7 separate regions of the Homo sapiens genome follow, and regions 1, 2, 3, 4, 5 and 6 are each linked to region 7. The links are contacts of gene promoters, found by promoter capture Hi-C in blood cells and fetal thymus (Javierre and others, 2016). All regions are on one chromosome and are shown on one strand. Each heading gives the region's core, a stretch centred on a gene start or on the middle of the fragment in contact. The rest is flanking DNA. Distances are from core to core; before and after follow the strand shown.

Region 1 (3,374 bases), core at 852-3,351, 290 kb before region 7:
AATGATAGTATGGGGGTTAAGATATTGGAGATACATCAATTAATGATAGTTTGGGGTAGAGGAAGAATCTCACTCTTATATTTATACATTTACACACACACACACAACTTTTTTTTTTTTGAGACAGTTTCACTCTTGTTGCCTGTCGCCCAGGGTCAAGTGCAATGGTGCCATCTTGGCTCACTGCAACCTCCACCTCCCAGGTTCAAGTGATTCTCCTGCCTCAGCCTCCCAAGTAGCTGGGATAACAGGCGCCCGACACACCTAATTTTTGTATTTTTGGTAGAGACAGGGTTTTACCATGTTGGCCAGGCTAGTCTCGAACTCCTTGACCCCAGGTGATCCACCCACCTCAGCCTCCCAAAGTGCTGGGTTTACAGGCATGAGCCACCACGCCTGGCCACAATTTAAACTTTATAAGCACTATTAGTTACTTAATGGGAAAAAAAAATCAGCTCTAATTGTTTCTTAATGAAATTATTTATGTCTGGAATATGCTTTAAAATGCTAGAGCCAAAAATAAATAAATTAATGGAGGAGCGGAGGTGAAAAAAACTGTTGAAGTAGCATAATGGGTACACCCAGAATTCAATGTATACTGGTTTCTTTTGTATTAATTTAAAATCTTATGATTAAAAAGTTAAACTTTTCAATCTGTAATTCAAGAAAAAATAAAACATACAACATAAAGTTTAATGTATACTCAAAAATAAAAATGTTTTGAAGTTTTAAGTTTATCATTATTTTTCAATATCCTATTTTAGGTAGTTTATCCATTACTTGAAAAGTTTAATTCATTTGAGATTGGTGAAAAATTAATGAGATTTATTATAATCAACTTAAAACTTCTGAAATACAAACTTCTTTCAAAAAGTTAGTATTGTTCATTCTAACATATCAGATGGTCTCAGAAACCAGGACACCATGAGAAAATTAGACAAATTATACTTACTTGTGAATTCAGTGAAACTACATGTCTCCAATGCGTTAGGTATGAAAGAAAGGTCAGGAACTAGCATCCCTTATGAATGCCTAACAATATGCCAGGTTCTACAATATACCATGTTCACATAATTCTAACAATCACCCTGTGAAAATATCATCCCTTTATAACGGATGTATATCAGCTCAAAAAGAGTAAGTGTATCGGGGCGTGGTTGCACACCTGTAGTCCTAGCTACTGGGGAGGGTGAAGCAGGAGAATCCTTTGGGCTCAGGAGTTCAAGGTTACATTGAGCTATGATTGTGCCACTGCATTCCAACCTGGGCAACAGAGCAAGATTCCTGTCTCTTAAAAATATACCCAAATAGGCCGAGCGCGGTGGCTCACGCCTGTAATCCTAGCACTTTGGGAGGCCGAGGCAGGCAGATCACCTGAGGTTAGGAGTTCGAGACCAGCCTGGCCAACATAGTGAAACCCCTTCTCTACAAAAATACAAAAATTAGCTGGGCATGTTGGTGGGCACCTGTAGTTCCAGCTACTTGGGAGGCTGAGGCAGGAGAATCGCTTGAACTTGGGAGGCAGAGGTTGCAATGAGCAAGATTGTGCCACTGCACTCCAGCCTGGGTGAAATAGTGAGAGTCCTTCTCAAAAAAAAAAAAAAAAAAAAAAAAAAAAAACCCAAACAGTAGGAAAAAAGAGACACACACACACTCCACGTCTGACATAACTAGGAGATACTGTAACTATTACCTGAAATACAATGTATAAAGACAAAAAGCTGATGGTAGAATGGTAAATGCCTTAGCATAATGGGAGAGATAATGACAAACAATCCTCTTTATCCTGCAATACCCCAGAAAAGCTCAGAAATCAGAGGGCGCTAGGAAATAGGGCAGAATACCCACAAACACACACTCCTAAGGAAACAAGAGGTATGGTCCTCAGTAAAACTGAATCAGAGTGGCTCCAAGATGAGGGGTATCCCTCACAGAAAAGAGAAGTGAAATGCTGGTATGAAAACAGGGAGACTAGGTAAAAACTTATGAAATGAATGACAAGACTTGTAGCTTTCTTCCCCCATGAAGCGCTAGAACCCTGTCATACAAACTCATTACCTCTGCCAAGCCCTTCACTATGGACTGAATCATGCCTCCCCAAAATCCATATGTTGAAGCCTTAATGCCCAATGTGACTGTATCTGAAAATAAGGCTTTTCGGAGGTAACTAAGATTAAATGAGGTCAAAGGGCACAGTCCCAATCCAATAAAATTGGTAGCTTTATAAAGAGAAAAGGAAGAGATTTTTCTTTCCATTATAGGAAAAGTCATGTGAGCACACAGGAAGAAGGCAGTCACCTACAGACCAGGAAAAGAGCCCTTACCAGAACCTGGCCATGATGGCATGCTGACCTCACGCTTCCAGCCACCAGAATTATAAAAAAATTAATTTCTGTTAAGTCACCCATTCTATGGTATTTTATTATAGCAGCCCGAGTGACTAAGACACCCCTCCTCTCTCCATCATTCCACCCACAAAGAGACAGGAAAATTAAAGGACATCTATCTGAAGAAACTGAAAGCCTTCTTGCCCACCACCCAGAGAAAAGAAATGAAGATTAAAAACACAGCAGTCCATTAGTCATTAACCTTGCTCATGATCACAAAGATCTGAACAAAACCTCCAACTAAAAGAAAGCAACCAAAACAAACAGAAATAAGTAAGAAAAACCAAAAATAATAGGGAGAACAGAAGAACACCTCAAAGAAGCTGTAATTAATATCCTTGAAGAGGAAACAGAAAACGTTGCACCCATGAAAAAGGAACAAAATACTATAATACTGAAACAAAGGACAGGAGCTCTTAAAAATTCTTATTAAAGGCTTAAACTTTTCCAGGCGCAGTGGCTCACACCTGTAATACCAGCACTTTGGGAGGCCAAGGCGGGTGGATCATGAGGTCAGGAGTTGGAGACCAGCCTGGCCAACACAGTGAAACCCTATCTCTACTCAAAAATACAAAAAATTAGCTGGGTGTGGTGGTGTGCGCCTGTAGTCCCAGCTACTCAGGAGGCTGAGGCAGGAGAATCATGCGAACCTGGGAGGCAGAGGTTGCAGGGAGCCAAAACTGCATTGCACTCCAGCCTGGGCGACAGTACAAGACCGTCTCAAAAAAACAAAAGCTAAAACTTTAAAATTCAGTCAAGGCCAGCCACGGTGGCTCACGCCTATAACCCCAGCACTTTGGGAGGCCAAGGCAGACAGACCATCTGAGGCCAGGAGTTCCAGACCATCCCGGCCAACATGGAGGAACCCCATCTCTACTAAAAATACAAAAAATTAGCTGGGCGTGGTGGCGCACACCTGTAATACCAGCTACTTGGGAGGCTGAGGCAGGAGAATTGCTTGAACCCAGGAGGCAGAGACTGCAGTGA
Region 2 (3,456 bases), core at 341-2,840, 450 kb before region 7:
TAAAGTTCTGCCAACTTTGTAAATTCCTTAAACAGGGATTCATCAATCTACTAAAACAAAAGATCGTATGTAAAGGAGAACTGCACAGATGTTTTACAGCATCAAGCTGTAGATTAAGTATTTACTTTATTACACTGTCTATCACCCAATCTAAGATGATGTCAGGAGAAAAAAATGAAAGCTCTCACATACTCTTGTCAACTGCTATCTACTATTAGATAATTTTTTCCTATGATACACCAGAACTCCTTAGCTGCGCCCTTTCCCCCACCTTGGATAGAAAGTCCAACCACAGTTACTGAAGTATACTAATGTCTCTGCTTTTTACTCCTCAAATGCCAGTTGAGGCAGTTAATGTTCACAATATTACAATAACAGCAATAATAAGTAGTCAGCATTTATCAAGTGCTGATACCCCTTCCACGTATTAACTTATTTAATTCTCACAGCACTATTAAGTAGGTATTACAGCTATCTCTATGTTTACAGTATAAAGACTTAGGCTGTACAAGGTTAAATAGTAGCAATAAACAGGAATTCAAACACAGACAACCTGGCTCCATAGCTGTGCTCTTACCCACCAGTAATTTCATTAATATCCATCCACAAAAACGACCCTACGTTCACTTGCCTTGGTTCTGATCACTAAGAGATGTCTGGGAAGGGTTACATTTAATCCCTAATCATTGTCATATACTTCTCCCTGTATTACCTTCTGTGGGCTATCTTGCCAGCAGGCAAGCTGTCAGGGCTTATTTAAAAAGCAAATAAAAATACACAAAACTCTTCAAGAAGTCCAACTTAGCCTTAACAACATGTAAAATAATTAGTATTATTAATCAAAGGGTAATTATAAGGACTAAATGTACTAATATGTATGGAGCAAACAACAGGAACAGACATGCAAAAGCTCAATAATTAACCATTATGTCATCTGGCTATTACCTAATGCTTCCTTTTCCTTCATATTGCAGCATGTGACAAGGAAAGAATGTATATGCCTATTTGCATTCTTTTACTACTCATCATAGCATATACTCTGGTTTATCATTCTAAAACATAACCCTGACTAAATCATGTGTACAAAATATAAATCAAGGCTACAGCACCATCCTTGTTTACATATTTCTAATAGTTTACTATAACAAGAAAAGCTATGTCATATTTTAAGGCAATTTAAATGCCAAAAATATTAACATAACTTGGTTACTTATTTTAAAAATACCTAACATATTATTGCTATTCATTCATTTGAAATCAAATAAGAGACCATTAAAGAGAACAATCTTATGCTGTACAGACCAGTATTAACTTTTTTTTTTTACTGACGAGACAATTGAGGCTTTAAGAGACGTCAGGTTTTACAGATGGTAAAACCCAGCTTCTGACTTCCAATTCCATGCCCTTTCCACTGCACCACACTCTTTTACGTAACTTGTTAACCACAGGCCAGTATTTTCCTAAGTATGTTCAACAGATACTCAGGGGAAAAAATTAAGTCAAATAAATTGAGAAATGATATTTTCTCTGTCTGCCTCTTAGACAGTCAACTGCACATTATTTGCACTGGAAAATCCTGAAATCATATAACTTGTTTGCCTGTGTCTCACTCAATATTTCCCAAACTGATTTGACTACAAAATCCTTTTATTCTCCTAATACTTATTAACATCATGTAGAGCACACTTCAGGAAATGTTACTACAGAATAAACTATTACGTTTAATAATTTTTTTTTTTTTTTTTTTTGGAGAGGTAGTCTCGCTCTGTCATCCAGGCAGGAGTGTGGTGGTGTGATCTTGACTCACTGCAACCTCTGCCTCCCAAGTTCAAGTGATTCTCCTGCCTCGGCCTCCCAAATAGCTGGGACTACAGGTGTGCACCACCATGCCTGACTAATTTTTGTATTTTTAGTAGAGACATGGTTTCACCATATTGGCCAGGCTGGTCTTGAACTCCTGACCTCAAGAGATCTGCCCGCCTTCGCCTCCCAAAGTACTGGGATTACAGGCATGAGCCACCGAGCCCAGCCTAATACTTAATGTAATAATCAGTATAAAGAGCCTATTTCACAGATTTGACAACTCAAATCAAGTCCCTTGAAATAAGTGCCTGGCTTGATACATGGCACATCAAAGGTACTTAATTTAAGAATAAAAAACTATATAAATTAGAAGTTTAATATAAATACTGTCTCCTGACAGCACTGTTATCAAAGCAGTAAACATTTACCAAGTACCAAGTATACAGTAAGACCCTGAAATAATGGCGATATAAAGATAATGATTCTTACTCTCATGGATTAGCAGGGGAGATTAATTATCAAGTCAGGCTGTAATAAGCAGTAGAATAAACAAAATACCACTGTAATACAGAAGTAGAATAATAATTGATATTATAAAAGAGATTGGCTGGGTGACATGGCTCACATCTATAATGCCAGCACTTTAGGAGGCTGCGCTGGGTGGAACATGAGGTCAGGAGTTTGAGACCAAGCCTGACTAACATGGTGAAACCCCGTCTCTACTAAAAATACAAAAATTAGCCAGGCATGGTGACGCATGCCTGTAGTCCCAGCTACTCAGGGGGCTGAGGCAGGAGAATCGCTTGAACCCGGGAAGCAGAGGTTGCAGTGAGCTGAGATCGTGCCACTGCACTCCAGCCTGGGCAACAGAGCGAGACTCTGTCTAAAAAAAAAAAGAAAAAAGAGGAGATTCCCAGGTAATTATTGTTAAATGGAGCAGAATGAATTTAGCTTATATGGAACATCTCAGAATGTTTATATCTAGGATGGTAAAAGAGGATCAAGATCTCTCTGTAGCTTTCCCTGTCTCCATGCAGAAACAATTGCTCCCATTTCAAATTTTTTTCCTCAGTGAATACTATCATACTACTAGGGTCATGTCAAAAAGATTCAGAAGCCAACCTAAATAAGCTCCTATTATTAAGACAGAACAATCTGTCTGACAATGGGAAAGACATTATTATGGACAATAACTCCAACAGGTGGAAACATATGAAATATCTTTAAAGCCATAAGTTCATAATGATAATTAAACAAACAAGCAACACAGTGGTGACCTTTGGAGGATGCTAGGTAACTACAATATTACTCTGTAAACTGTAAAGAGAAAGAATCAAGAAAAAAAAAAAGCGCTATACCACTGCCACAAAAAGAACACACACAACTTTCCCATAGGAGCACTAGCAGGAGGAGATACCTAATCCAGTTTTCAGGGGATTATGAAAGATATCCGTGAGGGGAAGATGCCAGCTTTGAGTTTTAAGGAGCAACTTCAGTTAAAAAAAAAAAAAATTAAAAGCATAAGTGGGCAGTCTAAACACTAAGGTGAAAAATAGCATGGGAAGACTTCAAACAGTTTTATTTGGAGGGATGGTGTTAGAAGGTAAGAAAAGTTGAAGGCTGAAAGGGGTAGGCAATGAGGCTACAAAGCTA
Region 3 (3,040 bases), core at 360-2,859, 320 kb before region 7:
TTGTGTGTATTTCCAGTCAGAAAAAACTTGACAGGCCGGACGCAGTGGCTCATGCCTATAATCCCAGCACTTTGGGAGGCCGGGTCAGGCAGGCTGCCTGACCTCAGGAGTTCGCCATCAGCCTGGGCAACATGGTGAAACCCTGTCTCTACTAAAATACAAAAAATTAGCCCTAGGCATGGCGGCGTGCGGCTGTAATCCCAGCTACTCAGGAGGCTGGGGCAGGAAAACTGCTTGAACCCAGGAGGCAGAGTTTGCAGTGAGCCGAGATCGCGCCACTGCACTCCAGCCTGGATGACAGAGCAAGACTCCTCTCAAAAAAAAAAAAAAAAAAAAAAAAAAAAAGACACATTTTTTTTTTTTTTTTTTTTTTCCTGAGACCAAGTCTTGCTCTGTCACCCAGGCTGGAGTGCAGTGGCACAATCTCGGCTGCAGCCTTTGCCTCCTGGGTTCAAGCAATTCTCCTGCCTCAGCCTCACGAGTAGCTGGGATTACAGACGAGCGCCACCACGCCCGGCTAATTTTTCTATTTTTAGTAGAGATGGGGTTTCACCAGGTTGGCCAAGCTGGTCTCAAACTCCTAGCTTCAAGTGGCCCACCCGCCTTGGCCTCCCAAAGTGCTGGGATTACAGGCGTGAGACACTGCGCCCAGCCTACCTGACACAATTTTTAAGAAAAACCTGGAGAAAATGAATTGGTGTGACATACTTGACATCTATTTTAGATTTTCAAATGCCATCATCCATCAACACCTGTGTATACCACAGCTTGCAACATTATCATTAACAGAAGAAAAAAATTACAAGGATAGAATAAAAGTTGGAGGCCACAAGGAAAAAAGTGGCACACAGTAGTAAATGAAAGTATATTTTCCCTCAGCAAAGTAAATGATTTGTTGTTCCAAGTCACCAACAACAAAAGATGCCTTTCCCTACCACCACCACAGGCTCACTTGGGAAATGGCCCCACATACTAAGCAAATTCTTTCTCGTAGATAGTAACAACAGATAACACTCAGTGCTTTCAATGCGACAAGCACTGTTTTCCCAATGAATCATGTGTTTATTCACTTAATTATCTATGTACTACACACTGAGGAGAGGAGATAGTTTGGTTTTATTGGTGTTTTTTGTTTTTTGTTTTTTTGAGATGGAGTCTCTCTCTGTTGCCCAGGCTGGAGTGCAGTGGCACCATCTTGGCTCACCGCAACCTCCGCCTCCTGGGTTCAAGCGATTCACATGCCTCAGCCTCCCGAGTTGCTGGGATTACAGGCACCCACCGTAATTTTTTGTATTTTTTAGTAGAGATGGGGTTTCACCAACTTGGCCAGGCTGGTCTTGAACTCTTGACCTCAGGTGATCCACCTGCCTCGGCCTCCCAAAATGCTGGGATTACAGGCTTCAGCCACTGTGCCTGGCCAATTTTGTTGCTTTTTAATCACAAAGTTAATCTCTCATACATACTTACAAGAAAGATTTCATAACTATTTACTACTCAGTAGTAAGTACCTGTGAGCCAGATTCTATACTTGGCACTTTCCTCATACTTTCCCTCATTTAATCTTGGTAACACTGTAAGGCAGTAATTAAATTATTACTTACCTCCACTGTGAATACATTTTCCCTAAATTTTTCCATGGACATCCCAGAAGTCACAAATTAATTTCCACATCTATCTCATTCTTTTACCTTAATCATCACTAGTTTCAGTTTAACTCGGTTCAAAATATCACCTAAATTTTTGTCTACTTCAAAGTTAATATCGTATATTTCATTTTTTAAAAATCTCAATTTTTAGGCTGTTTTAAATTTTATTTTCATGTGTAATCTCTGGATTCACATAATTCACATTATGTTAGGAATCCAGTATTCAATCAAGAACATATGAGGCTTTTATAAAGTATTTCTAAAACAGATTCCTTCTCAAGTAATAGAATTTACAGCATGATATTTTCAAATGAATAAGAAAACTATTTGATTAAATCAGAAAAAAAAATGGCTATTGGGCTAAACCAAGGGTAAAGTTAAGTAGACTTGACTTTTTCTTTTCTTTTTTTTTTTTTGAGACTGAATCTCACTCTATTGCCCAGGCTGGAGTACAGTGGGGTGATCTCAGCTCACTGCAACCTCTTGTCTCCCGGGTTCAGGCAATTCTCATGCCTCAGCCTCCCCAGTAGCTGGGATTACAGATGTCCACCATCATGCCCCACTAATTTTTCATTTTTAGTAGAGACGAGGTTTCACCACATCGGCCAGGCTGGTCTCAAACTCCTGACCTCAAGTGATCCACCCGCCTCGGCCTCCCAAATTGCTGGGATTACAGGCATGAGCGACCGAACCTGGCCTTAAGCAGACTTTTCAAGCATTCATCACTAGCTGCTATAAATAACTAGTGTGGTTATATTCAATTCCTGCCTCAAAGGCTTACAATCTAATTAGACAACACAGATAGAATATGCAGGCAAAAGAAACAGAACAAAAGGATCATGAGCATTAACTAATAAGCAGCCATCAACTTAAGCTCTGACGTATTTCTTCAAGGTTGAAAGAATATCGTAGAAAATGAAGTTCTGACATGTAGATAATAGAAAACGAATATCTGAAAACATGACAAAGAATGCAATGAAAATACAGAATCTAATACTCTTTATCTTAGATAATATAAACTACCAGTTATTTTGCTACATATGCAGTGTCGTGGTCTTTCCCCCTCAAGCAAATATAAAGCCTTATCAACAATTAAATTCAATATGAAGTTAATCAAGGTCAACATATTCTCATCATCAACTATCAACATGATAGCACTAGTAAATTTGCTAGCTAGTGAATTCGCTAGTTGTCTAGCAACCGAATGCCACGGATTCTTCTTACCTTGACATCTGAGTGAATTTAAGACTATCCTTACGTCTATTCTACCACAAATTCTCTCTTTACAAGTTCAGACTTATTGACAGGATTTGCAGTATACTTATTACCCAACCACCTACCCCCCAAATTCTTCTCTCCACCCCACCCTCATATATAAACAGCAAATGAATGCA
Region 4 (3,430 bases), core at 402-2,901, 430 kb before region 7:
CAAAATAGAGGCTCTTCCACCAGGAAAAAAGGTCAGGAATAATTTTGGGTAGGAAACCCCCATATGGCGGTCCTCCACACATCCTTTCTTCTCAAGGAGCTAAAAGAGAAGGGGTATGGAGGGACCTTGGGGCTTATTCTCACAACATGGAGAAAGGCATCTGTGATGGGAAGGAATAAGCCAACTCTAGAAAAGCAATAGGAAAAAAAGAGGCAGACGGACACATCTGATGGTGCTCTGGTCTTGGGATTAAGTAAACCCTGAGAAAAGCTTCACTACTCAGCACGGTTTAGCTTGAAAGCCAATAAATTTCCCCTTTAAGATAGTTTGAGTTAGATTTGTCTTACCTGCGAAAGAATCCAGGAGACTGATGGAGGAAGGATAATATTAAATGACTGCACATGGTTTTGGAGTTGAAAGCTGAGACTTAATACTTTTGAGCCATCTGTGCAATCTTAGGCAAGTTAGTACTCTGAAATGCCCTACACATACTTAAGTACACACACATACACACACACACGTGTGCATGCCCACACACACATTAACATGGCTGAACTTTACCAAAAAGGTGGAAAATTTAAAGTTCCCAACTATTTACAATTGATAGCAGTTACCAGTCAAGTTCATGTTACTCAGGCTAGTTTCTCATTTAAATTACTAAATGAATCCCAAAGCTGGCTCATATTTAAAGGCCATTAAACATATTCATTAGTTTTCTCATTGGCAACTGACTCCTTAAAGACAATGACCAAGATCTGTATCATACAGTTCTTCCTCAGCCCTATAAGCTAAATTCACTGTTTTACTATGACTATACAATGTTGCCAGTGCTTTTTTTCCCTTTTAAATTTGGGGAGTTTTTCTAAGCCACTCTTCTCTTATATATTTACCTAGTGAAAATAGAACCTCATTCTCTCATAATTTTATCTGCACAGTCACAGTGGAATCTTACAGGTCACTATATTGTTTAAAGGAATACTTAGTGTGTCAATTATCTTTCAATACATGTAATTTCAGGTCCCTATTTCAAATAACTTCCAAAAGATAAGTAACTCCATTCCCTCTCCTTGGAAATGAGAAACTAGATATATGAAAGCAGAGTATTTTGCCACAAAACACATTCAACAGCTCATTATTAACTAAAAACTATTCTGGTTTCTCCCCTGTTGTCATTCTTGTTGCATTAACAGTTCCTCCAAGTTAATAACTGAAAATTACTCTGGACCAACAGGAATTTTAAAATTATTCATAACTATGAAGGCTACAATAGGATAAAATGAAGTTTAAAATTGGATATTAAAGGACTTTTAAAATGTCAAAATAAACCATGCATAGAATAATTTATTTAGGCCGGGTGCAATGGCTCATGCCTGTAATCCCAGCACTTTAGGAGGCTACGGTGGGCAAATCGCATGAGGTCAAGATTTCGAGACCAGCCTGGCCAACACAGCAAAACCTCATCACTACTAAAAATACAAAAATTAGCTGGCCGTAGTAGCACCTGCCTGTAATCCCAGCTACTGGGGAGGCTGAGGCAGGAGAATTGCTTGAACCCAAGAGGCAGAGGTTGCTGTGAGCCAAGATCGTACCACTGACTCCAGCCAGGGTGAAAGAGTGAAACTCTGTCTCAACAAAAAAACAAAACAAAAGAATAACTTATTCAAAAATACTTGATAATTAAGTAGAATTTCTGTACGCATTTATAATAATTTCAAAGTTTGTTTTCATTTTCTCCTGGAAATTTCACATCTGATATTAGAGCTCATGTTCAAAAGAGTCTACAAATCAAGTGATGGTTTTTGGCCATTCAGTATTCAAATCATAAATATAAAAACGTCACAATTTTCTAGTGGAGAAAGGTGACTCTAAAGTGAGTTATGGTTGGGCACAGTGGCTCAGGCCTGCAATCCCAGCACTTCGGGAGTCCAAGGCAGGAGGATCGCTTGAGGCCAGAAGTTTGAGACCAGCCTGGGAAACATGGTGAAATCCCGTCAAAAAAATACAAAAGTTAGGTGGGTGTGGTGGCATGAGCCTGTAGTTCCAGCTACTTGGGGGGCTGAGGCAGGAGGATCGTTTGAGCCCAGGAGGTCGAGGCTGCAGTGAGCCGTGTTCACACCACTGCACTTCAGCCTGGGTGACAAAGTGAGACCCTCCCTCAAAAATAAAAAGAAGTGAGTTACTAACCAAACAAATATTCAAGAAAATGAAGATAAATGTTTTTGGTTTTTATTTACAAGGATACTACTCAGTATAAGCTGGATACTATTGAATGATAGTCACAAAATCAAAGAACATTATAATATTAAAACTTTTAAAAATCATATAATCCAGGACTTCTTAACCTGGGTTTTAAGACAGATGTGTTATTTTCTGTATATGTATATTGTATACATTTTTCTCAAAATATGATCCTTGGCTTTCAACACAAAGGGGTCCATGATTGAAAAGAGGCTGAGAACCATTAGCTAGTCAATGTAGAAAAGTGGAAATTGAGACTCAAAGAAATAAAGTTATTCACCTGTGGTTAAATAATCAGTAAGTACAGCTGCAGTTCTCCTGCCTTCATTTCACTGAAGTACAAATGCCTCTAAAAATTTTTTTTAGTAAGCATATATTTAAGAGAAAAACAGATCTGTGTGACCTAAGCCAGTGAGGGGAACCCTCAGGCTAATGATAAAAGAAAATACTAAGATGGCAGCCGGGAGACATGACTTAAGAACAATCTATTCAGTATGGACTAGATGAACAGAGAATTCTAGGAGAGTCAGTTCCAAGAAAGGAAAAAGGGAAGAGATAAACCTGAATATGACTGACTGCAATAAGAGAAGTGTTACAATTTCATCAGAGACTTAGAAAAAGAATTCGTAAAACCAAGCAAAGGGGAAAAAAAGTTACACAGATTGGAAATATTACAACATAACATATCTTTAAATGATACATACACAAACATAATAATGTAAGCACCAAATACTGATTTTACCAAAATTTGGAGTCACTGGGATGATAGAGGGGGGAAACTTAGGGGAAGCTTATAAAAAAGCTAAATCCTAATCATATAGTCAGAAGTCAACAAGTAACATCTACAATAAAATGACCAAGAAAAAACAAGGCAGGCATGCTTCAAAACATGAAATATCATTTTTAAAAATGGTGTTATTCAACAAAGGCTGTCTTAGAGTGTGGGTCAGCAAATCAAGGCCTACAGGTCAAATCTAGACCCTTGCCTGCTTTTGTAAATTAAGTTTTACTGGAACACAGCCATGCTCATTAATTTTATATAGTGTCTATGGCTGCTTTTGTGCTACAATGGCAAGGCAAGGTTGAGTGGTTGCAGCAGAGACCTATGACTCAAAACCTAAATTATTTACTATCTGGCCCTTTAAAGAAAAAGTCAGTCAATCCAATCCTAGTTTAGAATGTTGTACGACAT
Region 5 (3,267 bases), core at 697-3,196, 410 kb before region 7:
CTCATATGATCCCTCTCCAGCCCCACTACCATACACCTGGTACAAGCTGATATCTAATACCAGGACTACACTAACAATCTATTATTGTTGCTTTACTTTCACTACTTATCTTTTTAAAATACTGACCTCATCACTTAAAAATCTCTAGTCTCCCACTGCCAAAGAAAAGAGTTTAATCAACACTGTATTCAAAACCCTTCTTTTACAATTTGACCATAGATTTATTATTTCTCCAGTCAGTAGCATCTATCGTCTCTACTTTGTTTCACACAGTTTCAATTACCCGCCCTCCCCAACCTCCCATCCATACATTCTAGCTACACATACCTTACATTCTAGCTACACAGGTTCACAAATATACCATATACTTTCATGCCTGCCTTCTACTCCAGGTAATATTCCTTGTCTAAAATAACTTTCTCCTTGTTCTGATCTATTTGAAAAGTTACCTCAATTCCTTCTAAGGAAATTAAATTGTGAGAACATATAAGCCATGGTGTTCAAATAACTCCACTACTTAAAGAGTAATTTAAGATTCAGGCCAGGCACGGTGGCTCAGGCCTGTAATCCCAACACTTTGGTAGGCCAAGATGGGTGGATCACGAGGTCAAGACATCGAGACCATCCTGGCCAACATGGTGAAACCCTATCTCTACTAAAAATACAAAAATTAGCTGGGTGTGGTGGCGTGTGCCTGTAGTCCCAACTACTCGGGAGGCTGAGGCAGAAGAATCCCTTGAACCCGGGAGGCAGAGGTTGCAGAGAGCCAAGATCATGCTACTGCACTCCAGCCTGGCGACAGAGCGAGACTCCGTCTCCAAAAAAAAAGAGAGTAATTTAAGATTTAAATATTTGGCCGGGCGCGGTGGCTCACGCCTGTAATCCCAGCACTTTGGGAGGCCGAGGCGGGTGGATCACGAGGTCAGGAGATTGAGACCATCCTGGCTAACACGGTGAAACCCCGTCTCTACTAAAAATAGAAAAAATTAGCCGGGCGTGGTAGCGGGCGCCTGTAGTCCCAGCTACTCGGGAGGCTGAGGCAGGAGAATGGCGTGAACCCGGGAGGCGGAGCTTGCGGTGAGCCGAGATCGCGCCACTGCACTCCAGCCTGGGCGACAGAGCGAGACTCCGTCTCAAAAAAAAAAAAAAAAAAGATTTAAATATTTTTAATTTCAGAGGGTGACATCAATAAGATGACTGACTAGAGACACCCAGCACTCATCCCCCCAATAAGAAAGAACCTAGGCATCACATAAACAGCTAAGATTCAGCTTGAGTGTCAATGGGAGAGTACTAGGGTGCAGCGAGAAACTGGAGATGCACGTGATGAGATTGGAGGGCAGCATGGAAGTACCTGGCCACTGCAGCCCTGTCTCCCCAACCCAGACTGGATCAGCCCAGAGTCAGGAGGGACTTCCCATTTCAGGGAAAAGGTAAGCAGAAGATCCCTACCAGCCCCCACTGCCACTGCAAACACCTACAATCCTTACTACAGGAGAATCCCACAGTCCTTGCAAGCCCCAAGCCCAGTCTGGAGAGCTGCCAGGAATTCATGCAGCTGCGCTGCCCCAGATTAGGAGCACAGGGTGCACACTCCCCTCCCCCACCCAACCACTCCCTGTGAGAAAAGCTGCTGCAGCATGGTGCCATCTTGAGACCAGAGCCACCTCTGGAGTGCACCCTGCTCTGGAGGTTAGTAGCCAGTGAACTTCTCTAGCACTGGGGCTCCATCTTCATTCCATCACACTCACATGGGTGGCTGAAAACCACAACCCCAACTATGCAAAGCCTGGGCCCAGGATCGGCTGTGACTCCAGTCCTGCACAGCAGGGAAACCAACCTCCCTTCCCCTCTGCTCCCCAACACTCTGCTGCCACTGCCACACTTCCAGTCAGAGGAACAGTCTGGCACTCCCACCTAAGGCAAACCTGCCCTTGAGCCAGAGAAAACTGCTATATGCCCTCCAAGTGGAAGAGTGCCCCCCACGTCTCTAAGCAGCTGATACATCCCTCGGGCTGGCAGAGAGGCTACACATCTGCACTCAGGTCCTGAGACACAGCCCTACAGCACTCCCCCACTGCAGACATGCCCTCAGCTCTCCACCTGCAATCAAGGTCTAAGAAACAGTCCTGTCCCTGGGCACAGCAGGCTGCTCCTGGTAGGCATACCCTCAGCCCATCCAAGCAGCCATGAGCCCATGACTGGACCTGAGTAACATCCCTGTGGGCCACCTCTAGCAAACATATCACTTGTGGGCCTATGGAGGGCTCACTCCTGAGCCACACCCCTGAGCCAGCCAAGCAGCCTTGCATCTGCATCCCAAACCTGAGAAAGTCCTGTGGGCCCCCCCGGTAGACAGATTCATTCCCAGGCTGGCTGAGCAGCCCTGTGCCTGCTCCTGGGCCTATAAACAGCTCCATGTGGGGCATGTCCCACACCAGCCAAGAAGTTGTGAAGCCATGTCAAGGGCCTGAGAAACAGCTCTGAGGGCCATCTATGGTGGACACACTCCTGAGCTCCCCGAGCAGCCTTGTACCCATGTCCCAAACCTGAGAAACAGCCCCACGGGCCATCTACAGCAGATACATACATCCACAGGCCAGCCAAGCAGAAGAGAAGGGAAAAGGTAAGGAAACATATTTAATGAAATAACAGCTGCAAATTTCCCAAATATTGGGAGAGAGATGGACATCTAGGTCCGGGAAGCTCAATGAACCTCAAATAGACGCAACCCAAATAGATCCTCTCCAAGGCAAAATATATTCAAATTGTCAAAAGACAAACACAAAGAAATTCTAAAACCAAGAGAAAACATCAAGTCACATACAATGGAATTCCCATTAGACTAATAACAGATTTCTCAGTAGAAGCCTTACAGGCCAGCAGAGAATGAGATGATATATTCAAAATATTGAAAAGAAAAAAAAAAAACTGCCATCCAAGAATATTATATCCAGCAAAGCTATCTTTCAGAAATGAAGGAGAAATAAAACCTTTCATAGACAGGCAAAAACTCAGTAAATTCATCACCACTAAGCCAGCCTTATAAGAAATGCTCAAGGGAGTCTCACAGTTGGAAGTAAAAGGATGATAACCACCATCATAAAAACATGTGAAACTATAAAACTCACCAGTAGAGTTGATAAAGAAGAAAGAGAAAAGAACCAAATCTTATTACAGAAAACTACCCAACCACAAAAATAAACAATAAGAGAGGAAAAAAGGAAATAGAAAACAAGAAGAAAACAATCAATAAAATGACAGGAG
Region 6 (3,364 bases), core at 132-2,631, 300 kb before region 7:
CGCCTGTAATTCCAGCTACTCAGGAGGCTGAGGGATGAGAACCTGGGAGGCTGATGCTGCAGTGAGCCAGGATCACACCACTGCACTCGAGCCTGGGTGACAGAGTGAGACTCTGTCTCAAAAAAAAAAAAAAAAAAAAGAAAAAGAAAATGAAAAAGAAAGAAACCCCAAATGTATTGTGATATAATAGAAATAATTCAGGCTTTGTAATTATACATATTAAGCTCAAATTCTAGCTCTGCCAATAACTGATCAAGTGACATGAAGCAAGTTACTTAACCGTGTTGTGCCTCAGTAATCTCATCTGTATAGATAATAACACTTGTCTTCTGCAATTTTTTTTTTAACGGAGTTTCGCTCTTGTTGCCCAGGCTGGAGTGCAATGGCACGATCTCAGCTCACCGCAACCTCTGCCTCCCGGGTTCAAGCGATTCTCTGCCTCAGCCTCCCGAGTAGCTGGGATTACGGGCATGCAGCACCACGCCCAGCTAATTTTGTATTTTTAGTAGACCCGGGGTTTCTCCATGTTGGTCAGTCTGGTCTTGAACTCCCAACCTCAGGTGATCCACCCACCTTGGCCTCCCAAAGTGCTAAGATTATAGGCACGAGCCACCACGCCCAGCCTTTTACAATTTTTATAACAAGGCAACATATGCATTATTTCCAACACTATGCACAATACCTAATTTTAAGCACTGGACAAATGTAGCTATTATTATTAAATATAAACAGAATTTTATTACAAAAGCACCCAGTAACAAAGAGTTACAAAAATACTACAATAACAATAGTCACAAGAACACACAAAGAGTAAGAGGAAAATAAAAAAGGACACATACAGCTGGGAACAGTGGCTCACACCTGCAATCCCAGCACTTTGGAGGACAAGGTGGGAGGATGGCTTGAGGCCAGGAGTTCAAGGCCAGCCTGGACAATATGGCGAGACCCTTTCTCTACGGAAAATACAATAATTAGCCAGGCACAGTGGTGCGCACCTATAGTACTGGCTACTCAGAAGGCTCAGTCAGATGGATCACTTGAGCCCAGGAGTCTGAGGCTGCAGTGAGCCATGATCACACCACTGCACTCCAACCTGAGCAACAGAGTGAGACCTTGTCTCTAAAAAAAATTTTTTTAAATACATATATACATAAAAACCATGCCAGGCATAACATGATAAAGTGGCCTGTGAAAAATTTTAGCTCAGGTTTTCCTCACTAAACTATCAGAAAAGATTGGTCTCCAGAGCAGAAATAAAAGCATTTCGTCTGTTCTCAACATATTATAAAACCAAGATATGAAGTACTAAGATATTGTAGGTGGTATCTGGTTACAGAATTAAATCACTTTAAATCACTGAATCGTGTGTCTATAGCTACTATATCAAACGTGATTGTTTCACATATATACAACCTGGGGCATTCTTAGACCTCTAAGTCCACATTATACAATTACATTATTTATTACAATTTAAATTATACTCTGTAATGCAAATGGTAAATCATATACATAGTTCTTAATGATAACAATATGTGTGGGCATATGTAACTATGGGAACCAGACTCTCGTTGTACTTGTTATATACTCTTAGTTACACTTTTTCACACAACCAATTAAAGTTCTACATTTTTTAAAAGTTGTATATTTAGCTAACATCATTAGATACACACCTACAGATGCTTTATCAATCTTAATTCAATTGGAATGTGCTCCAAGTGAAATTTTCCAAAACACACATACATTATGTGCCCTAATGTATGTGCAGTGAGAAATTGGTTCAGACTTCCAAAGCTAAGTCATAAGAAGACTTGCTGTTTCCACCTATGTCGCTGGGTGTCAAGACTCTTGGAGTCCTGAGCTGCCACGTAAGAAATCCAACTTCCTAATTAACAGACCATGTGGAATGGTCCTGAAACAACTTGGAGAAAGAGAAGGGTTCACTCAGTTCAGTATCTAGCCATACATAACACAGCAACAGGCACGTGAGTAAAGTCATCTTGGACCTTCCATACCAGACCAGCCACCAACTCAACACCAATGAGCAACTCCAGTCAACACTGCGTGAAGCAGAGGAAATCACCCAGCCAATCATGCCAGAATTTGTGATTCACAAAATCATCTGATATAATAAAATGGTTATTGTTTCAAACCACAAAATTTTAGGGCAGTTTGTTATGCATTAAGAGATAATTCAGCCTTCACAAAGTCTTATTATAGATAATGAAAAAGTTGTTTTGTTTAAGTATATACAAGACATGCACTGACTCTAGAAAAATGTTAAAGTAGAAAACTGTCTTACAAAATACACTGATGGGCCAGGTGCGGTGGCTCACACCTGTAATCTAGCACTTTGAGAGGCCGGGGCAGGCAGATTGCTTGAACCCAGGAGTTTGAGACCAGCCTGGCAAACATGATAAAACCTCATCTCTATAAAAAATACAAAAAAATTAGCCAGGTGTGGTCGTGCACTTGTAGTCCCAGTTACTCAGGAGACTGAGGTGGGAGGATCAACTGAGCCCAGAAGTTGAAGCCGTGATTGCACCAGTGCCTACCAGCCTAGGCAACAGTGAGACTCAGTCTCAAAAAACATAAAACAAAATACACTGATATATTAAAATCAAGAAGTGAAGGGCTAAAAGAAAAAAGGCTTAATATATAATGTCAGAGCTATAAACACAATCAAACGCCTTGAAATTATTTCCTCCCATAACTTCTGTGACATTGTAGAGCTCGCTTTTCCTATCTAGCTGCCATGAATATTAGTTCATATAATGTTCTCTCTCCCCACAACTCCTTTATCTCTTTGCTGAAATCCTACCATACTGCCCTTTCAAAGTTTCTCTCAAATATCTCCTCTCCTACATCTCTTCTCCCTTTCTTTTCTGAGACACAGTCTCGCTCTGTCGCCCCGACTGGAGTGCAGCAGCACGATCTCGGCTCACTGCAGCCTCCGCCTGCCAGGTTCCAGTGATTCTCCTGCCTCAGCCTCCCAAGTAGCTGAGATTACAGGCACACAGCACCACGCCCAGCTAATTTATATATTTTTTAGTAGAGACAGGGTTTCACCATGTTGGCCAGGCTGGTCTTGAACTCCTGACCTCAGGTGATCCGCCCACCTCAGCCTCCCAAAGTGCTCAGATTACAGGTGTGAGCAGCCACACCCGGGACCTTGTCCCTTTCTTAACTGCCTTAGTATCTGCCTGCCCTCACTCCACACCACAACTTTCTACTTATGGTATTTAACTTACTGCAGTATATATTATAAGTATCCTGCTACATTGTTTGGAGGCAGAAATTGTATTTATCGATTTTGCCATTTTTCTTAACACTTTGCCACAGCATTTAAGAACCAAAAATATTTATC
Region 7 (3,434 bases), core at 565-3,064:
GCCATGTGACTAAATTCTGGTGAGTGAAACATACGTAGAAATGTTGTGTAGAACTTCCGGGAAGTATCCTTAAAAGAGAGGTAGCATCCTCTTTTTATTCCTCTTCTTCCATTCTGATTTCTGGAATGCAGACGTGAAGGCTGAAGCTTCTGCAGCCCTCTTTGATCATGAGGACAAGGGTACACTCAGGATCAGGTGGAGCAAAGAACTGGAAGGAGCCTGGGTCCCTGATAAATTCAGGAACCTGCCCTAAGAGCTTTATTCTGCCTACGTCCAGCTAGGTGACAGAATAAAACTTGTGTGTTTAATTTACTGTTAATCTGAGTTCTTATTAACTTCTGGAGAATCTAATCCTAACTGATACACATGCCTTCATATAGCACCCTCATGATTTTGGCCACATCTTTCTATCATTATCTTATTGTTTCTCACCTTCTTTACATTGGCTTTTTCACTTAATTTGAAGAGAATTTTTTATATCATCACTGCTTGACTATAAAATCAGTCCTGCCTGGCAAAAATAGAAGTTAACTGCAAAAATAAAAACAATGGAAATGTACTGACTTTAAAAAATTGGCCAACAGTGTTTCTGTATGACAAAGGCAACAAGCTTATTTGATATGAAATAGTTGCATTAGCTCCTTGGGGGCTCCAGTGGCCTTCCTTTTATTCACTGATAATATTAGCAGCTTCATTAGGCATTTATCTTAAATTTGCATGCACTTCCCGGGTGGGAGGACTTTCCTCTGTATATGGTGGTGAGTAATGGAGTTCTACCTGAAATCATCCATTACCTCAGTTGGAGAAACATGTCTCTAGGAGGGAAAAAAATTCAAGACTTTCTTTTACATTTGGTTGGAGTAGTTTTCAAACTTAGTAAGCCTAAGAATCACCCGAGGCTCTGGGTAAAATGCACGTTTCTGGTCTTGTCCAGGTGTAGAGATCAGGAGTCTGCATTGTAAAATAGTGCCCCAGATGACGTCAATACAAGTAGTTTTCAGACCTTAATTTCGGAAGCATGTGAAAAAGCATTCTTTATTACTGTATTCACTCATTCTTCAGTAATTGTCGAGCACCTTCCAGAGTGCTCTGTTAGACCCTGGTGGGAGGCAGAGGGTTTGCGTGGAGACTTAAGATTCAGTTTTCATGTCTCAAGGCATCAAATGAGATGTACTAGAGTTAAAAGGCAAAAAGGACGCTGTTTGTATCAAGCGCATTAACCCCTTTTAGCGTTTCTCTTACAATGGGATCACCTTCGTCATACGCTCCCAGTTGCTACTCATTACCTTAATAACACTAATAAAGCACCACCACCTCGAAGCTGGGGCGAATAGGCCCAAGAGACGGCCTACTTCTGTGGTGACCCTGAACTGCTCCAGAGGACCCAGCTCTCTCAAGCCAAGTGGTTTCCACACTTTGCTGCACAGTGGAGGCACTTGTAGAATAAAGAAAATAGGCCGACCCTCCAGGTTTGGAAGCCACTGGGCTAGCGGCCTCGCCAAGGCCCTGAAGCGCCCACGTCTTTGCGCCCTCTATCCTCAGCCCCGAAGGTGCGCGCGGAGGCCTCCCGCCCCGGCGGGCCTGGTCCTGGCGCCTGGTCCACCCCGCCCCACCGCTACCCGCCGTGCCCGGCTCCGGCTCCGGCTCAGGTGCGGGCCGCCGGCCGGGAGGAGCTGGTGCCGGAGCTTCTCAGGCCAGGGCGCTGCAGAACCGAAAGCAGCAGGGGGCGGGGGAGAGGAAAGAGGGGGCGGGAGCGGGGACGCGAGGGCGAGGCGGCCACGCGGGGCCGGGAATGCCCGCGGTGCGGGGCCCCAGAGCCGCCCGGTGGTCGTGTCCGGGCGATGGCTCTTCGCCTGGTCGCCGACTTCGACCTCGGGAAGGACGTGCTCCCGTGGTTGCGGGCGCAGCGGGCAGTGTCGGAGGCCAGCGGGGCCGGAAGCGGCGGCGCAGGTGCGGGAGGCGCGCTGCGGAGAGGGGTGGGGGCGGGGAGTGGGAGTCCCTCATACCCCCCGGACTCCGACCCGGTGGGGAGCAACCCGGGGCGTCGCCGCCCTGAGAAGGCTGGTGCGAGGGCGTCGCTCCCCTCCTCAGAGGGCTGTTTTGGCTTTGCCACCCACACCCAGCCACGGCGGAAGGTCTGGGGGCAGAGCCCGGGCCAGGTCGCCGTGGGGCCTGAGGCGCCTGGCTCGCTGCCGGCCCGCGGAAATTCGCCCTTGGCAGAGGGGCCGGGCCGCTGGCGGTTCCCTCAGCATCACCTCACGGCGAGGGCAGAGGGTCGTGCTCAGCTCAGCGGCCGCATCCCACCTCCCGGGGGGTTCATCGGCAGCGCAGGGGCTTTGCCAAGACAGGAGTGCTCCTGGAAGCTTCACGTTTTGAGAAAGAATCCGTGACCACCAAGCAAACCACCCTATACCTAACGGTGGAACAGTTTGTCCCCACATTTGCGAGACGTGTTTATGTGTCTGTTGAACCGTGTCCGTGGCTCAGGGGACATGGGCCTCGGCGGTGAGGCGCAAGAGGGCAGGGGCCGCCTCCAGGCTGCGCGCGGCGGGGCGAGAGCCCCCAGCCGCCCCCGAGCTCCGCACCTGTGCAGGCTGGGGCTGCGCGCGAGATGCTCGGCTCCCGGCCCTGCCACTCCGGGCTTTTTGATGATTTGGTAAGGGAGTGAAAGTGACTTTTGAGCCTTCCCAGCACTGATCTGTTTTAAAGAAGGGGAACTTTGTGATTTCTTACAAAGTTTTAAAAGTCTTCTATAAATATTGGAGCTTCAGAGCTTAAATGCAGCTTCAAAGCAATGATGCCTGTAGGTCTCACCTTGTGTGTAGGGCGCTGTCCACTTCAGTGAATTTGGAAGTGGGTATTAAATGACCCACATCTACAACTCCTTTCCCTTAAACGCTGGTGAAAGTTTTCTTGATGTGAGTTATATATCAAGTTGCTATCTTGTATCTTCACACTCTCCTATGACTATAGCGAAATTATTTGTAGGTTTCCTTGGCTTGGAATATTATTAGCTCCAAATAAGGAGTTATATGTTTGTGTAGCGTATGCATTGAGTTTGCATTAGTGTCATGCTTAGTAAGGCTTTACTTTTTTTCGAGGTGGAGAGGGTGGTCAAGGAAGAATTTTATACAAAAATTAGCTGGGCGTGGTGACACGCTCCTGTAATCCCAGCTACTCGGGAGGCTGAGGCAGGAGAATCGCTTGAACCTGGGAGGCAGAGGTTGCAGTGAGCCGAGATCTCGCCACTGCACTCCAGCCTGGGCAACAGAGTAAGTCTCCGTCTCAAAAAAAAAAAAAAAAAAAAAAAAAAAAAAAGTCGCCCACATGTCTGAAAAGTTTTTGAAGGCTTAACTTTTTGAAATACAACAGGCAGCTCTGTCTTCTACTACCAAGTACTCCTTTTTCTGGACTCCCACTTTATTTTGCTAAAT

Evidence for each region. Contacts are between HindIII fragments. The CHiCAGO score rates a contact against its expected background, and 5 or more counts as called.
Region 1: a fragment that was not itself captured here is called in contact with the fragment with the promoter of GSAP in region 7 in 6 of 17 cell types (total B cells, neutrophils, monocytes and 3 more); the score reaches 7.9 in total B cells.
Region 2: a fragment that was not itself captured here is called in contact with the fragment with the promoter of GSAP in region 7 in 1 of 17 cell types (total B cells); the score reaches 5.3 in total B cells.
Region 3: a contact is called between a fragment that was not itself captured here and the fragment with the promoter of GSAP in region 7, in 12 of 17 cell types (monocytes, neutrophils, M2 macrophages and 9 more). The highest score is 13.9, in monocytes.
Region 4: a contact is called between a fragment that was not itself captured here and the fragment with the promoter of GSAP in region 7, in 1 of 17 cell types (total B cells). The highest score is 6.6, in total B cells.
Region 5: a contact is called between a fragment that was not itself captured here and the fragment with the promoter of GSAP in region 7, in 1 of 17 cell types (total B cells). The highest score is 5.1, in total B cells.
Region 6: a fragment that was not itself captured here is called in contact with the fragment with the promoter of GSAP in region 7 in 1 of 17 cell types (neutrophils); the score reaches 7.4 in neutrophils.

Annotation. Positions count from the first base shown.
Region 1 is chr7:77,701,724-77,705,097 of GRCh38, reverse strand. The region is part of intron 1 of RSBN1L (round spermatid basic protein 1 like); the gene reads right to left. Among named protein-coding and RNA genes, the nearest start is that of RSBN1L, 7.0 kb to the right of the region's middle. The HindIII fragment of the contact is 9,574 bases long and covers 1-3,374 here.
Region 2 is chr7:77,864,477-77,867,932 of GRCh38, reverse strand. All of the region lies in intron 2 of PHTF2 (putative homeodomain transcription factor 2), which reads right to left. Among named protein-coding and RNA genes, the nearest start is that of PHTF2, 67 kb to the right of the region's middle. The HindIII fragment of the contact is 7,462 bases long and covers 1-3,456 here.
Region 3 is chr7:77,737,045-77,740,084 of GRCh38, reverse strand. The region is part of intron 2 of RSBN1L (round spermatid basic protein 1 like); the gene reads right to left. Among named protein-coding and RNA genes, the nearest start is that of RSBN1L, 42 kb to the right of the region's middle. The HindIII fragment of the contact is 3,463 bases long and covers 1-3,040 here.
Region 4 is chr7:77,842,743-77,846,172 of GRCh38, reverse strand. The region is part of intron 2 of PHTF2 (putative homeodomain transcription factor 2); the gene reads right to left. Among named protein-coding and RNA genes, the nearest start is that of PHTF2, 46 kb to the right of the region's middle. The HindIII fragment of the contact is 2,758 bases long and covers 273-3,030 here.
Region 5 is chr7:77,820,791-77,824,057 of GRCh38, reverse strand. The region is part of intron 1 of PHTF2 (putative homeodomain transcription factor 2); the gene reads right to left. Among named protein-coding and RNA genes, the nearest start is that of PHTF2, 24 kb to the right of the region's middle. The HindIII fragment of the contact is 7,723 bases long and covers 1-3,267 here.
Region 6 is chr7:77,717,539-77,720,902 of GRCh38, reverse strand. All of the region lies in intron 1 of RSBN1L (round spermatid basic protein 1 like), which reads right to left. Among named protein-coding and RNA genes, the nearest start is that of RSBN1L, 23 kb to the right of the region's middle. The HindIII fragment of the contact is 6,731 bases long and covers 1-3,364 here.
Region 7 is chr7:77,414,729-77,418,162 of GRCh38, reverse strand. It overlaps GSAP (gamma-secretase activating protein), which reads left to right and starts at 1,814. Exons shown (of 31, transcript NM_017439.4): 1 at 1,814-1,950. The coding sequence starts at 1,842. It overlaps LOC101927243 (a long non-coding RNA gene), which reads right to left and starts at 2,965. Exons shown (of 5, transcript NR_110073.1): 1 at 2,815-2,965. RefSeq lists silencers at 1,519-1,868, 2,089-2,298, 2,359-2,648. The HindIII fragment of the contact is 1,753 bases long and covers 613-2,365 here.